2 separate regions of the Homo sapiens genome follow, and region 2 is linked to region 1. The links are contacts of gene promoters, found by promoter capture Hi-C in blood cells and fetal thymus (Javierre and others, 2016). All regions are on one chromosome and are shown on one strand. The core of a region is centred on a gene start or on the middle of the fragment in contact, and the rest is flanking DNA. Distances in the headings are between cores, read along the strand shown. Region 1 holds the start of MTUS2-AS1 (MTUS2 antisense RNA 1). Region 2 has its middle 98 kb from the start of UBL3.

Evidence for each region. Contacts are between HindIII fragments. The CHiCAGO score rates a contact against its expected background, and 5 or more counts as called.
Region 2: a contact is called between a fragment that was not itself captured here and the fragment with the promoter of MTUS2-AS1 in region 1, in 2 of 17 cell types (endothelial precursors and megakaryocytes). The highest score is 5.5, in endothelial precursors.

What each region holds. Positions count from the first base shown.
Region 1 is chr13:29,486,137-29,489,231 of GRCh38, forward strand. MTUS2-AS1 (MTUS2 antisense RNA 1) reads right to left here and starts at 1,614. Exons shown (of 3, transcript NR_046378.1): 1 at 1,364-1,614. MTUS2 (microtubule associated scaffold protein 2) reads left to right here. Exons shown (of 16, transcript NM_001033602.4): 11 at 1,764-1,869. The HindIII fragment of the contact is 24,751 bases long and covers 1-3,095 here.
Region 2 is chr13:29,750,880-29,753,974 of GRCh38, forward strand. No RefSeq gene overlaps it. Among named protein-coding and RNA genes, the nearest start is that of UBL3, 98 kb to the right of the region's middle. The HindIII fragment of the contact is 1,422 bases long and covers 816-2,237 here.

The DNA of each region.
Region 1 (3,095 bases), core at 364-2,863:
GGTGGGTTCATAGCTCTGAGCTTCAAGTAAATACGGTTTGATCAAGAATGGCCTTTAAATGGGAGTGAGCCATTGTGCACCACGTCCGTTCTCACACTGCGATGCAGCTTTCCTAATGCCATGGGTCTGCTGTAGGTTTTGCTCAGTGATATTTGTTTTAGTGGATGAAGTTCTCATTTACCATAAGAGAGAGAAGTCAGGATAATTGTTTGATGAAATTATAGTATGCAGAATGGGAAACCACCCTTTTTTAAAACAAATATATCCTCACGTGTCAACTTCACAGTCAGGCTTCCTTTCTTGGGGAGAGCCCTTTCTCCATTCAGATCAAAGGTTAGCCTGTGAATTCTCCCCCAGAGAAATGTGGGAGCCCAGAGGTGGCTGAATATGACCAGCTAGAAGCAATGTCTTCTTAACTGGGCCACCAAGGAGCTTCAAGACCAGTGCACATTTTCTAGTTCAGTGGTTTTCAAATGCCAAGTTTTGATGCATTATTAGCTTGTGAAATAAATGTAGTGGCCTCTAACTAGCGTTTTGTAAAACAAAGTAAAATAGAGGAAACATTTTTAAACCAGATTTTTCCAAATGGAAGGGGAAGTTTTGTTTTTGTGAAACTTTGGTTTTGGGTATGGTTGTGTGTGGGTGTGTGCACTGTGATATTGTGTACAATGGTGATTTTTACAGTGGATCACTGACAGAGAATTTGGATAAACACCGTTGTAGTGCATCCAGGAGAGATTTGCAATCATAGGGAGAGGTCGTTTTAGACAATTACTCCTGCAAGTCATACATTTGAAGTTAAAACAACAGCCACAATGACAATAACAAAAACAGTAAACCTGGTAGGCAGGCAGGTGAGGGGTAGGGGAGGGGGTCAGGAAACATGAAAATGAAGAATCCTGGACTGGACTGGCTGCACTACTTGCGATTAAACTGCTAGACGTGTTCCTGCAGCTGGGAGGCAGCAGCCCTTCCCAGGAGCACCACATTGCCTGAGCAGAAGGTCCAAGTTATAATCTGGTGGGCAACCTTATGTTTAAAAACAGACACACAGACCTGCCAGCCTCACCTGGTATTGGCGAGAGAATCCTAAGGTGTTCGTTGCTAGTCTTGCTTGGGGGAGGTGAACACAAAACAACAGTGCATTAGAAAGAGCCTCGCCTTTGGAGTCAGACAGACCTGGGTCTCACTGTTAGCTCTGCCATTTATTAGCCCTTGGGCAAAACGTTTCATATTTCTCTTAGCCTCAGTTTCCACATCTGTCAATTGGGCATAAAAAGATATACTTCATAAGGTGGCTCTGAGGGTTAAGTAGAGTAGCCTATCTCGGACAGCCTAATAAGTATTCGTTCCCTCCACTTACCTTGTGTACCGTAGCTCCCCCTGCCACTGGGAAACAGACCACCTCGTAGGGAGGACGCTTTTCTTTTCCTTTGCCGTCATCGCTCATAGCGGTGCAAGCGCGTGGACAAGCAGTGGGAAGGGGATGGTCCAGGAGCCACACTCAGGACTCTAAAGAGGTACCTCAGGCAGTGATCCCCTGCCTGGAGTTGGACCCCCCTACAAAGAGCCAGGTTGTGGCAGTGACCTCCCCGTGATTCCGAGGGCTGCCACATCACCACCAAAGTCCAGCTCTCCTGCTTCGGCACAAGGCTGTGACTTGTCATTGATGTTTTGGGTCACGGACCTTTTCCACTCACGGAATTCCACTTCTGTTCTCCAAGCAGCTCTCTGTCTAACCAGTAACTGCGACTCTCCTCCAGGTGGAAGATCTCACCGCCAGCCATGATGCTGCTCTCCTAGAGATGGAAAATAACCACACAGTTGCCATCACAATCCTGCAGGATGACCACGACCACAAAGTCCAAGGTAGCTCCCAGCCTCGTGTGCAGCAGGCAGGGGTGGGTGGTGCAATCCGAGCCTTTCCTGCTGCAGATGTGTGGAGCCCCCCTTCCTCTCTTGTCCCTCCTTTCCTGTCTTTCCCTCCTGGTGCATTTTTTCCTGTTGGCTCCTGGGAAAAGAAGAGATAGGAATTAAGGATCCAGGTAGTTAGCTGCTTCTTTCCTCCAATGCAGTTATCCTCAACCTTGATGAATACTGGAATTCCCCGTCCCCTGGGGAGCGGTAACAAAAGACCAATGCCAGCCTCAGTCCCACCCCAGGGATTCTGATGTCCTTGGTCCATAGTGCAGTGTAAACATCAAGATTTCTTAAGACTCCTTAGGGGATTCTAATGTGTAGCCACACTTGAGGGCCACTGTCTAAAGCAGGCATGGAAATCGTGCACTTTTTTTTTTCCTCTTTTTTTTTTTTTTTTTTTTTGAGACAGAGTCTCACTTTGTTGCCCAGGCTGGAGTGCAGTGGTGCGATCTCAGCTCACTGAAACTTCTGCCTCCTGGGTTCAAGCGATTCTCCAGCCCCAGCTGGAGCCTCCAGCCCGAGTAGCTGGGATTACAGGTGCCCACTACCACACCCGGCTAGGCTTTATGATGTTTATTGCCTTATAAAAACAAATGGAAGCCCCGGCATGGATACACTTTCTTCATATTTATGATGTTCTCCGGGCCACTGCAGCATCTGGTTGGATCGGGGTATCCAGAGCTTACACTCATAGACCACATTCACCGTGGGTGTGCGTTAAGTCTCCAGATCTTTCTTTCTACATTTTTGTAACTTTGAATTATCTTTGGGTTTTACGTGGGTCATAACAGCATCATTACTAAGTTCCAGTGAGATTTTCCTTTGTGAAAGAGGCAGCATTTTACACTTTCACATGCATTTACATTAATATGTACAGTTTATTTTTCAACTTTCTCTCGCTTTACTTTTCCCTCCCAGTCAGCTGGTTGTTAAAGTGTGTATTAAAGGCCGGGAGCCGTGGCTCACACCCGTAATCCCAGCACTTTGGGAGGCTGAGGCAGGTGGATCACCTGAGGTCAGGAGTTCAAGACCAGCCTGGCAAACATGGCAAAACCCCGTCTCTACCAAAAATACAAAAATTAGCCAGGCGCGGTGGGCTGGCTACACGGGAGGTTGAGGCAGGAGAATCGCCTGAACCCTGGGAGGCAGAGGTTGCAGTGAGTCAAGATTGCGCC
Region 2 (3,095 bases), core at 277-2,776, 260 kb after region 1:
TAGCCACTCCAAAAAAGGCAATCAGATATGTATTTATCTCAGTGAGCAGAGGGGTGACTTTGAATAGAATGGGAAACAAATTTGCCCTAAGCAGTTTCCAGCTTGACTCTTCCCTTTAGCTCAGTGGTATTGGGGCCCCAAGATATTTTCCTTTCACAAGGGAAACCACCCCCAAGAGGTGGAGGGAGCTGCCTTTGAAAGCATGGGTCCAGTGAGTCTACACTCATTGCTGTGGGCACAGGCCACCATCAGACTTAGGGACTGAGGATGAGTGAGCACAGCTGACTAGGAAAACACGTCTAAAAGTAGGAAACTGGCCAGGCGTGGTGGCTCACGCCTGTAATCCCAACACTTTGGGAGGATGAGGTGGGCAAATCACCTGAGGTCAGGAGTTTGAGACCAGCCTGACCAACATGGTGAAACCCTGTCTCTACTAAAAATACAAAAATTAGCCAGTCGTGATGGTGGGCGCCTGTAATCCCAGCTACTCGGAAGGCTGAGGCAGGAGAATTGCTTGAGCCCGGGAAGCGGAGGTTGCAATGAGCCAAGATTGCACCACTGCACTCCTGCCTGAGTGACAGAGCAAGACTTCATCTAAAAAAAAAATTAAAAAAAATAGGAAACAAAGTGCCCCAAGCCATGATCACTGCCTTGAAATCTTATTTTGAGAAAACTATATTCTAAAGTTGAGTAAGCAAAACTGGAGAAAAATGAGAATAAAGTAAGGCCATGGAATACAAGGAGCCCAGCCTTCTGTATGGAGCCTGGTTTATATACACCTTCTTTCCACAATATTTCCCTAGTCTTGGCATGTAAGCTTTGTCCAAGCCTCTACTCTGTAGGGAATCTTGGCTTAGACAATATACTAAGGGATGGTCACACTTTAGTTACAACAGGAAAGTGGTTCTTTGGAGAAACTGATGATGTAAGGAGTCTTTGTAATTAAGTACAAGTCCCAAGATCATCCTGACTTGTCAAGGAAAAACATACTAGAAAGGACATGGCAGGGAAGGGATGGGCTGCCTAAAGATGAAAATAGGAATGTGTATAGGCAGGAAAATAACACTGACAAAAGGAAGAAAGGCAGGAACTAACAGAGAAATTAAGGAGGGATGGAATCAGATTTGGAAAAGGTGCTTGGATGTAAACTAATTCATCCTTATGTCCAATACATGACTCTTCTCTCTCCTCCCTACTAGGCAGGGCATTTTTGCTTCCTGACAGCTTCTGCTTGAACACCTCCTGCGATGGAAACTCACTATCAAAAATAGCTCCTTTCCTTTTTGCACAGTGCTGAGCCAAACTGAATCAAATTTTGTCTACTTGCAAATTCTGCCCATTAGCTCTGTTCTGACCACTGCAGCGACTCTCAATAGGTATGATGCCTTTTGACCTAGCGGCCCTTCAAATATTTGAAATCCACTTCCTCTGACAGCCCCACCCTGACACCATTTCTAGATCCTACATGATCCTGCTCGGTCATCTGTGAACATACTTCAGATGTGTCAATCACCTTGAAATGTGGAACCTAGAACTGAACACAACGTTCCATGTCATCAGTGAAATTGGAGCACAACATTATTGTTTATATCCTGAGACTTATTGTCCTGTTAATAAAGTCTGAGATAGAACTTGCTTTTTGGCAGCCCTTCAACAATGTTGGGTCACACAGAGCCTAAAATCAGTTTTAAATTACTGCTCCATCTTCTGATCACATCATATATTCCAGGAGCTCTCTGATTATTTGGATTTTATTTCAACACTAAAAAATGTTGAGAACAACATAGCCTTATGTAAAAAAAAAAAAAAAAAGGTTCCAAGGAAGGATATTTTTAAAAGGCAAAAGATTGAAAGAAAATGACATCCAATGGATAGTCATATCTAATGTAGAGTTTAAGAACTGGTAAATATGTGGGCAAATATAAAAGCATTTTCAAAAGTCATCTTTTTATTTCTTTAAAAGATAACTGGCTGTTTAAAACAATGATTATACGTTCTGAGATTTATAACATACAAAGGCAAAATGTATGGCATGAGAGCACAAAAGACAGATATGGAGAAGTGGAAGTAATCTGCTTTCAGGTCTTGAATTACACGTGAAATAGTGTGATGTTATTGAAGGTAGACTGTGAAAACTTCAAATGTATATTGTAAGCCCTAGAACAGCCACTAAAAGAAAGGAAATGGTATAGCTATTAAGTCAATCGTAGAGTTAGAATTAAAAATACTTTGATATAAGCTTTCCATTTATAAATTAAAAAAAGAAAAATACTTGATCTAGAAAAGGAACAGATGAGACAATCTTTAGTTTGTCACAACTGGTTTTCACAATGTCAAGACATTAAACTGATATGTCCATAATTACATTAAATGTAAATAGTAAAAAGGCTAGGCGTGGTGGCTCACACCTGTAAACCCAGCACTTTGGGAGGCTGAGGCAGGTGGATTGCTTGAGGCCAGGAATTCGAGACCAGCCTGGACAACCTGGCGAAACCCCATCTCTACTAAAAATATGAAAATTAGCTGGTGTGGTGGTGCATGTCTGTAATCTCAGCTACTCGGGAGGCTGAGGCAGGAGAATTGCTTGAACCTGGGAGGCAGAGGTTGCAGTGAGTCAAGATCACACCACTGTGCTCCAGCCTGACAGAGCAAGACTGTCTCAAAAAAAAAAAAAAAAAAGTAAATAGTAAAAGCACTCCAATTAAAAGGTAGAGATTGAATAGTTCTTGTAAAAATAGTAACCTTCTATACACAGTATATAAGAAACATACTTTAAACACACAAATAGGTTAAAAATAAAGAACGAAAAAAGATACACTATGTAAGCTCAATAGTCATGAGAAAACTGAAGGGGTGATGTTGTGACCGCCCAATGGGCTCACCTTGCCCGCTGTCTAGACAGAGCCGATTTATCAAGACAAGGACTTGTGGTGAAGAAAGCGTAATTTATGCGGAGCCGGCTGTGTGGGAGACTGGAGTTTTATTATTATTCAAGTCAGTCTCCCTGAAAACTCAGGGATCAGAGTTTTTAAGGATAATTTGGTGGGTAGGGCCAGTGGGTCGGGAGTGCTGATTGGTTGGCTTGGGGGTGAAAT